Linked DNA regions of Homo sapiens: regions 2 and 3 are each linked to region 1. The links are contacts of gene promoters, found by promoter capture Hi-C in human tissues and cell types (Jung and others, 2019). All regions are on one chromosome and are shown on one strand. The core of a region is centred on a gene start or on the middle of the fragment in contact, and the rest is flanking DNA. Distances in the headings are between cores, read along the strand shown.

Region 1 (3,360 bases), core at 226-2,725:
GGTCTTCCTAAGGAAGGAAATGGATGGCATTGCCAGGAGTAACCAGAGGTAAAGGAACATTCAGTTCCAAATAGGCTTCCTCTCTTCTCTGCCCTTCCCCACAGTTCCAGAGCTCTCGCAGTGTCAGGCTGCCAGAAGGAAGACAGGATGCAGACGGGGCTGGGCTGTCAGGATTCAGGACCCAGAGACAGACCTAGGCGTGATTTTCGGGTTGACCCTGGGCAAGTACATTTCCCTGTGTGAGTCTCAGTTTCTCTGTCTATAAAATGGCATGGGGGTATTTCGAGGCCCCTCGCTGCACCCCTCTATGTACCATGTGTTTTGCTTTCTGTATTCTGATGCTCTGGCATCTGAGGCCTTGTTGACCTTGGAGAAACTCCCTCCCAGGGTCCAGCCACCCCAGAGCCCACACCCCAACTGCCTCTTTGATCGGGTTGCCATGCCCTGGCCACTACCCACCTGCCCTAATCATGCCAGGGCTAGGTACAAAACAATTAGGAACAGCCCCTGTGCCCCAGAGCCCCTGAAGTATCCCAACTTGCCAGTCCTCAGCCTGCCTGCCCTGCCTTTCCTCTTCTATCCTTGGAAGCCACAGTAAAAGCCCCTTGGCCTCAGATCCGCCCTGTCCCCTCCCCAGGCTCTGCTGCTTCCCCTTGTGCCCCGCGCACTGGTGTCCCCCTCCTGTTGAGAACATGAGTAAGAAACTGTCTTTTTAATGGCAAGAGGTCCTGATATAGTGGCCTGACCACAGCTCAAATTTTCTATTCATACACTACGTTTTTAAACAGCGCCTTTATTTATCCATCCCTTTTTCGTGCTTTCTACATACCAGGCGCTGCCAAGAGTGCTTTAGAAACAGCCACCCATTTCCTCCTCACCAAAGCCCAGTGAGGTAGGCAGCACTGCCACCTCTGTTTCAGAGAGGGGGTAACCCAAGCACGGAATAGCGCAGTCCCTTGCCTAAGGACACACAGCGAGGAAGCGCCCAGCGGGGACTCGAACCCACGCACTCTGGCTCCAGAGTCGATGCTCTTAATATTATGTTGAGCCGCTCTCCGTGATCCAGCCGTAAGGGGACTAATTAAGGGACAGCAAACTGAGCTGCCTAAATTTCTCGTGTGTGCGGCCTGAGGTGGGCCGGCTGTCGGCCTGCATTTGGGCGAGCAGTACAGGGCGATCTCAGGATGTTCACCCTCCCTGCGTCTCCGCGCGGGCCAGGCTGGCCGGGCTCAGCTGCTCCAAGTCCAAGTCCTAATATGGAAGTCGTGCCCCGCCGCAGAGCCGGACCTGTTGTGTCTTTGCCTTTCTACGCATCTGCGCCCACCTCGGCCCAGAACAAGGATTTCAAAAAGTGCCCCGCATTTTGATTTCAGAAGGACTCACCCCAAGCCGCGGAAGCAGAGAGAGTGGCCAGGATAAAGGCACGGAGCCACATCGTGGAAGGGCGACAGTTCTCGGGGCCTGCGAGGTCTCTGTGCAGTTCAGAGGGACTGTGCTGTCCAGCCCTGGAGCCCAGCCCCGCCCAGAGTTACCGCCCTGCGCTGCCAATTGCCTAATCCTCTAATTGGGAGAGATCAGAAAAGCCCTCCCTTTCCTCAGATCTCCCTGGGCTTCTAGTGGGGCCTCAGGCCACGCCCACCCACAGTTTACCCTCTTTCATCAAACCAGTCTGGACTCTACTGTCAGATTACAGAGAGCTGTAAACTTGCCCAACTACTTGTTACATAAGGGTTCACCCTTGCAGGACTCTAACCTCAGTGCACTGTGACGGCCCCCAAGGGCCCACACCAGCAGGCAGATGCTTTTAGGCAAAGGGAAGCTTTGATCTGAGGTCCTCAGAAACAACTGGAAAATGTTAGAGCCACTCACACCTCACAGCTCAGCTGGGTAAGTTAGGACATATCTCAGCTCCCAGGGCTTGTGTTTTCATAGCTTTCCAGGCTCTCAAGCTTGGAAGCGATCTTAAATTTCATCGAGTCCCCTTTCTGAGGCCTGAATTAGCTTCACAATATCCTGCCAACTGGTCCAGCCTCCTGTCACACACCATCGGTGTCAGAGAACTCACTACTTTCCAAAGCAGGGATTTTTGGACAGAATGTAAAAATGAACTCCGTCCCCCCATAGTCCCTGGCTGTTATCATCCATCCATCCAAGTACCCATCCATTTTGTGAACATTTACCAAAATGCTTGGCACCTGGCCATGTATAATGGATACAAAGACCAATTCAAGACATGGTTCAGCTTCTCAAGGGGCTCACCATTGTAGACAAGACAGATGGGGTGGAGGAGCAGTAGGGGTGATGTCAAGGCAATGTGAAATCACCAAATTAAGGGGATACAGAGTGCTCTGGGCACACCTGGAAAACTGTCATTTACAAGCTGCTGGGGACACAAGGAAGTCACTCAAAGCCTCTTTCATGGGATTATTAAATGTCCAACAATAGGGAATTCACTAAACACACTGTGGTACCGCTGGCTAAGGAAATACGATGTATTCACTCAAAATAGTGATGTGCACAGCTATTTATTAACAATGAAGACAGGATGCGTTGTGAAAGGAGAAAATAATAGGTTATAAACTGTTGTGCGGTGTAGGCAGTTCCTCAAAAAGTTCAACACAGAGTTTCCATATGACCCAGCAATTCCCCTCCTAGGTGTCTACCGAAGAGAACTGAAAGCATGTCCACACAAAAGCTTGTACACAAAGAGCAGTGTCATTCATCCTAGTCAAAAAGTGGGCACAACCCGCATGTCCATGACCTGATGAATGTGTAAATGAAGTGTGGTGTATGCGTGCAGAGGCATATCATCCAGCCATAAGAAGAACATGCTACAACGTGGATGAAGCTGGAAAACATCATGGTAAAGGAAAGAAGCCAGCCACAAAAGGCCACATGTCGTATGATGCTTTTTATATGTAATTTCCAAAATAGTCAAATCCATGGAGACAGAAAGTGTTTGACAGGGTCTGGGGAAGGGGAAAGAGACGGGGATGAGGAGTGACTGCTAATGGGCATGAGTTTTATCTTGGGGGTGGTAAAAATGTCCTGGGATTAAATAGTGATGATGTTAGTGCAACTTTGGGAATATACTAAACACCACTAGATTGTACACTTTAAAAAGGTAAACTTTATGACATGTGACTTATATTTCAATAAAATAATGAAATATTTTTGAAAATCTAGATAGGTATAATATGGTCCCGTTTTGGTAGTAACATATGTCTTTATTTGCATAGGAAAATACTGGAAGTCTATATATCTAATTAGAATTACAACAGCCATTTCCTGGCTGTAATCTTGTCAGTGTTTCACTTATTTGCATTTTCCACTTTTATTCCTTCATACATTCATTGACAA
Region 2 (3,360 bases), core at 599-3,098, 110 kb before region 1:
TAGATATATTGCATAGGATGTGCCAACAATCACTTTTATAACCATTCCATGATTTTGCTTGGGTAATCCCTTTTAATGGTGAACTTCAGGTCACAACAGTAACTATCAGTTCAACTACACCAAGGTTTCCAAAGACAATGGCTTCTCCACCCAAGCAGGTTGTATATAAATTCCAAATAGAACCTGGCATCACCCTGAAGGAATTCTAACTTCACACTGTTGGGGAAATTTACCAAGATGGCTTCAGAGTAGACTAACTTTACACAGCACATTAAAAAAAAAGACATTTATTCAGCATCACGATCAGACTATTACATTTAGCAATCAACAGCATGGGTGCAAAAAAAAAATCTACATTAAAACCCTTTGTTGGAATGCTTTACACTTTCCACAGAACAGAAACTAAAATAACCTGTTATACAATTAGTCACAAATACAGTCCTTGAGTTTTTTGCCCATACACATGAGTATTTGTCTAAAACATGTCTTCTTTGTAGCAGCTAGGCCCTGCCACCACTGTGCTTGGCTGAGTTCACAAATCTGTCGTAACCTGTAGCTTCCCTGTCACTTCTCTGGCTCTCCTCTCCTGCTAAGCTTTGTTTCCTAATTAAAATCTTCAATGAACAAAACTTCCAAGAAGTATGTAAAGAGACCAAATCTGCAATTCATTGGCATTCCTGAGAGAAAAAAAGAGAATAAGCAACCTTGCAAAATATATGTGGGGATATAGTCCATGAAAGTTTCTCTAATCTCACTAGAGAGGTTAACATGCAAATTCGGGAAATACAGAGAACTCGCTAGATGCTATACAACATGACCATCCTCAAGGAACATAGTCATCAGATTCACGAACATCAACCCAAAAGAAAAAATCTTAAAGGCAGCTAGAGAGAAGGGTCAAGTCACATACAGAGAGAACCCCATCAGGCTAGCAGCAGACCTATCAGCAGAAATCTTACACCTCAGAAGATATTGGGGGTCTATTTTTAGTGTCCTTAAAGGAAAGAAATTTCAACCAAGAATTCATATTCCTTCAAACTAAGCTTCATAAGTGAAGTAGAAATAAAATCCTTCTCAGATAAGCAAATGCTGAGGGACATTGTTTCAACTAAACCAGCCTTACAAGAGGTCATTAAGGGAGTGCTAAACATGGAATCAAAAGAGTGATACTTGTTACCACAAAAACACACTAAGAATATAGCCCGCAGGTACTATAAAGCAACTACACAACCAAGTCTACATAACAACAAGCTAGCAACACAGTCACAGGCTCAAAATCTCATATACCTATTCTAACCCTGAATGTAAATGGGCTAAATGCCTCCACTTAAAAGATATAGAGTGGCAAGCCAGATAAAAAGACAAGACCCAACCATCTGCTGTCTTCAAGAGACTCATCTCACATGTAATGACACCCACAGGTTCAAAGTAAAGGGATGGAGAAATATCTACCATGCAAATGGAAAACTAAAAAGAACCAGTCACTATTTTTATGTCAGATAAAATAGATGTTAAACCGATTTCTATTAAGAAGGACAAAGAAGGGTATTACGTTATGCTAAAATGTACACTTCAACAAGAAAAATTAACTATCCTAAATATATACACACCCAACATTGGAGCACCCCAATTCATGAAACAATTCTTCTTGGACTACAAAAAGACTTAGATAACCACACAATAAGAGTGGGAGTCTTCAACATTCCACTGACAGCATTAGACAGATCATTGAGGCAGAAAACAAACGAAGAAACTCTAGACTTAAACTTGACTCTTGGCCAGTTAGACCTAATAGACATCTATAGAACACTCCACCAAACAATGGCAGAACAAATACTCTTCTCACCTGCACACAGAGTTCCGCTGTTGTCGTCCAGGCTGGAGTGCAATGGTGCGATCTTGGCTCACTGCAACCTCCGCTTCCCAGGTTCAAGTGATTCTTCTGCCTCAGCCTCCTGAGTATCTCTGGGATTATGACACCCATCATCACGGCTGGCTAATTTTGTTTTTTTGTTTGTTTGTTTGTTTGTTTGTTGTTGTTGTTGTTTGTATTTTTACTAGAGACCGGGTTTCACCACACTGGCCAGGCTGGTCTCAAACTCCTGACCTCAAAAGATCTGCCTGCCTTGGTCTCCCAAAGTGCTGGGATTACAGGTATGAGCCACCACACCTGACCACACAGAACATATTCTAAGATTAACTACACGCTCAGTCATAAAGCAAGTGTTAAAATTTTTTTTGTAAAGTTGAAATCATACCAAGCACACTCTCGGAACACAGTGCAATAAACATAAAAATATTATCAAGAACATCTCTCAAAACTGCATAAATACATGGAAATTAAACAACTTACTCCTGAATAACTCCTGGGTGAATATCAAATTTAAGGCATAAATCAAAAAATTCTTTGAAATTATTGAAAATAGGGATGCAACTTACCAAAATCTCTGGGATGCAGCTAAAGCAGTGTTAAGAGGAAAGTTTAGAGCATGAAATGCCTTCATCAAGAAGTTAGAAAGATCTCAAATTAACAATGTAAGTTTGCACCTAAAGGAACTAGAAAAAGAGAACAAACCAACCCCAAAGCTAGCAAAAGAAAACTAAAATTAGAGAAGAATTTGACACTGAGTTGCAAAAATCCATACAAATGATCAATAAAACTACAAGTTGGTTATTAGTAAAAATAAACCAGATCAATAGGCCCCTAACTAGATTAACAAAATCAAAGAAGATCCAAATAAGCACAATCAGAAATGACAAAAATGATGTTACACCTGATCCCACAGAAATATAAAAGATCCTCAGATAATATTATGAATAACTCTATGTGCACAAATTAGAAAATCTGGAGAAAATAAATAAATTCCTGGAAATAATCTCCTAAGATTGAATCAGGAAGAGATTGAAATCCTGAAGAGACTAATATGGAACTCTGAAATTGAATCAGTTACAACAACAACAAAAAAACCCTACCAATCAAAAAAAGTCCTGGATCAGATTAATTCACAGCCAAATTCTACCACATGTACAAAGAAGAACTGAGACCAATTCTACTGAAACTATTCCAAGAAAATCCAAGAGGAGGGACTCCTCTCTAACTCATTCTATGAAGCCAGCATCAGCCTAATGCCAAAATCTGGAAGAGTCACAATGAAAAAAAAAAACTTCTGGCTAATATCCCTGATGAACATAGACACAAAAATCCTCAACAAAATACCAGGAAACCAAATGCAGCGGCACATCAAAATGTTAATAAACGATGATCAAGTAGGCTTCATCCCTGAGATGCAATAATTGGTTCAACAAGTACAAATCAATAAATGTGATTCACCACATAAACAGAATTTAAAGCAAAAACAA
Region 3 (3,360 bases), core at 330-2,829, 85 kb before region 1:
CCAGAGGTTTCCTGCAGAGTTGGAGACCTTGGTAGCCTCCAGGTGTGTGTCTGGCAACATGAACTGTGCATGAATCCTTGTCTTCTCAGATGCTGGAGCACCCACCTACATGTATGAGTTTCAGTACCGTCCAAGCTTCTCATCAGACATGAAACCCAAGACGGTGATAGGAGACCACGGGGATGAGCTCTTCTCCGTCCTTGGGGCCCCATCTTTAAAAGGTAATGGCTCCTTGCTCTCCGTGAGCTTGGAGTTAGGAGATCTGGGTTCCTGTCTTGGTGTGGTGGCTTTCAGCAAGTTTCTTCTCTCCTGGTCTTAGTTTACTGATTCTCTATAACAGGGTTGAATGTCACTGGGTTGTCCCCCAGCTTCCTCCCACTCTAACATATGTGAGGCGGGATGTGTATTCATGTGCCCTTTGCACAGCCACTCAGAATCCTGCTCTGTGACATCAACAAGACGGGTGTGTGTGGGGGAGTCTTCTGAAGGATTCACTATACAGGGTTGAATGTCATTAGGTTGTCCCCCAGCTTCCTCCTGCTCTAATACACATGACGGGGGATGTGTATCCATGTACCCTCTGCACAGAAACTCAGAATCCTGGCCTGTGACATCAACAAGACAGGCGGGAGGGTGTCTTCTGCAGGATTCAGTATGACAGAGTTGAATGTCATCGGGTTGTCCCCCCACCTCCTCCCGCTCTAACATACCTGAGGGAGGATGTGTATTCATGTGCCCTCTGCACAGGCGTTCAGAATCCTGTTCTGTGACATCAACAAGACAAGTGTTTGGGGGGTCTCCTGCAGGATTCACTATGACAGGGTTGAATGTCATTGGGTTGTCCCCCAGCTTCTTCCTGCTCTAATACACATTAGGGAGGATGTGCATCCATGTACCCTCTGCCACAGACACTCAGAATCCTGGGCTATGTCATCAACAAGACAGGTGGTGGGACACATGCAGGGGTGCTCTAGGTTGAGAAGCCACCAATCAATTTCCCTCTCCCAGGAGCGCTGAGAATGTGAGTGAGGGTGAGATTAGAGTTGGTGTTAACCCTGAGTCAGGTCTAATGTGTGTCGGTTTGTCTTTCTGTCTGTCTCTAACAAAAACTCATAAACCTTTACATTTAATACATTTAATAATTGTTAGTTTAGAAATCACAGGATTATGAATTATGGTTTATAGTCAGCAGGATTCACTGTGATAGGATTGAATGTCATTGGCTTGTCCCCCAGTTTCCTCCTGCTCTAACACACATGAGGGAGGATGTATATCATGTGCCCTCTGCCACCGACACTCAGAATCCTGGGCCGTGTCATCAACAAGATAGGCGGAGGGACACATGCAGGGCCCTGCTCTAGGTTGAGAAACCACCAACCAATTTCCCTCTCCCAGAAGTGCTGAGAATATGAGTGAGGGTGAGATTAGAATTGGTGTTAACCCTGAGTCAGGTCTAATGTGTGTCGGTTTGTGTTTCTGCCTTTATGTCTCTAACAAAACCTCATAAACCTTTAAATTTAATATAATTAATAATTGTTAATTTAGAAATCACAGGATGTATGAATTTGGAATGGGAGAGGAGACTTTATTTTTGATGTGGTTTATAGTCAGCAAAGTTGCTATCCCTCAAGCTGGGAAGGTGCCTCTGGCCAAGCCCAGAAACAGGCTCATCGAACGAGGAGGGGTTGGGTAGAAGCTTTATATGAACAGATTGGCTAAACATACATGTTCAACACGTTACAGGGGGAGCAATGGATATTCATGAAGACAGTCCTGACACATGTGTATTAAACAAACATGCATGTAACATTGCCCATGTTCACCTGGTGGTGGAGACCTAATATTTAAATGTATTACAATTAGGGCTTATAAATCCAAGGGTCTTCTCAGGACACAAAGCCCAGCAAGTGAGCAGCCTCTGTACACCGGCCAGGTCCAGTCCATGGCTGGTGATATTCTTATCTGGAGAAAATAACTGAAATCAGTCTCTTATGCAATCAAAGCCGTAGTTAAGGCTGGTGGGCAGTGTTCTGTTCTTCCGAGTATCCAAGCTGCAGCCATTTTAATTGTTTTCATTTTGCTTAACTCCAGGCCAGTACTGGTTTAGCTGTAGACAAAAAGAAGCACCTTGCAGCAGGGAGAACAGAGTGGATTCTTTAAGGGTAGAGATGCAGGCCTGAACCCTTGCCCGGCATGGCCTTCGATCTTTTTTTAATTTGGTGTCTTATTGCCACAAGGAGTGTGTTCTGTCAGAATGATCACCTTTATTTTATTGCTGATACTCGTCCGGTGGTGTCTAAACCACAAAAAAGGGGGAGTATGATGAGGCGTGTCTGACCTCCTGTCTGTTTCCAGGCAGGAACTCAGTTTAGGGTTTTTCTGGGGTCCCCTTAGCCCAGAGAGGGTCTGTTCAGTGAGTTGGGGGTGTTAGGATTTTATTTTTAGTTTACATTATACAATATTTTTAAAAATCCTTTCATGATGTCTTCTAAGCCTTAACTCTCAGCTGTTACAGATCACATGGGACTCACCCCATGGCTGCTCAGGACGCACCATCGCCACTGGGCATGTCCCAATTATGCACCCTTAGGAGGCTTGAGTTCTGTTATATTTCAGAATGTGAATTGTGGGTGTGTGCAAGAGAGAGCAACCCTGGGAGGTGGGGCAAGCACATGGAATGATGCATGCCCATTGCTGAGCCCTAGGTCAGCCATGCTTAAAGGTAAAGTACACACAAATCCACCAGGATCTTCTAAATGTGCAGACCTCAGCTCAGTGGGTGTGGAGCATGCGCCAAGACTATGTTTCTAGCAGGTTTGCACGTGAAGTTGACAATGCAGGTCCGCGGACCACACTTTGAGTAACAAAGGCTTTTTTTCTTCTTCCCCACAGAGGGTGCCTCAGAAGAGGAGATCAGACTTAGCAAGATGGTGATGAAATTCTGGGCCAACTTTGCTCGCAATGGGTGAGGCTCTTGGCAAAGACACAGCACAGCTGGTGAGGGTGGGGGGCGGGGCATGCCTATTGGGAAGGGGCAGCTTCTAAGGTTCTAGCGATCAAACTTCTGACCCTGTGACCATAGCACTCTGACAATGAGAGCTCTCTACAAATGGAGAGGCCGCCCCTGGAGATAGTGAACTCCCCGTCTCTGGAGATATACAAGCCTCTTGACGGAGATAACTTGGGCGTCCTCACACATCTCTGAAGATTGTTGGGGACACACAGCAGCTTTGGGGCAATTCTATTTGATTTTGTTTCCAGAAACCCCAATGGAGAAGGGCTGCCGCACTGGCCAGAGTACAACCAGGAGGAAGGGTACCTGCAGATTGGTGCTAACACCCAGGCAGCCCAGAAGCTGAA

What was found. Contacts are between HindIII fragments. The study calls those that stand out against the background at their distance.
Region 2: a fragment that was not itself captured here is called in contact with the fragment with the promoter of CES1 in region 1 in 3 of the 25 tissues and cell types used here (bladder, liver and spleen).
Region 3: a contact is called between a fragment that was not itself captured here and the fragment with the promoter of CES1 in region 1, in 4 of the 25 tissues and cell types used here (liver, mesenchymal stem cells, spleen and 1 more).

What each region holds. Positions count from the first base shown.
Region 1 is chr16:55,831,621-55,834,980 of GRCh38, forward strand. It overlaps CES1 (carboxylesterase 1), which reads right to left and starts at 1,476. Exons shown (of 14, transcript NM_001025195.2): 1 at 1,384-1,476. The coding sequence starts at 1,435. The HindIII fragment of the contact is 6,998 bases long and covers 1-2,322 here.
Region 2 is chr16:55,719,839-55,723,198 of GRCh38, forward strand. It overlaps LOC105371280 (a long non-coding RNA gene), which reads right to left and starts at 1,998. Exons shown (of 3, transcript XR_933605.1): 1 at 1,847-1,998. The HindIII fragment of the contact is 3,146 bases long and covers 276-3,360 here.
Region 3 is chr16:55,746,669-55,750,028 of GRCh38, forward strand. It overlaps the pseudogene CES1P2. Among named protein-coding and RNA genes, the nearest start is that of CES1, 85 kb to the right of the region's middle. The HindIII fragment of the contact is 6,048 bases long and covers 1-3,360 here.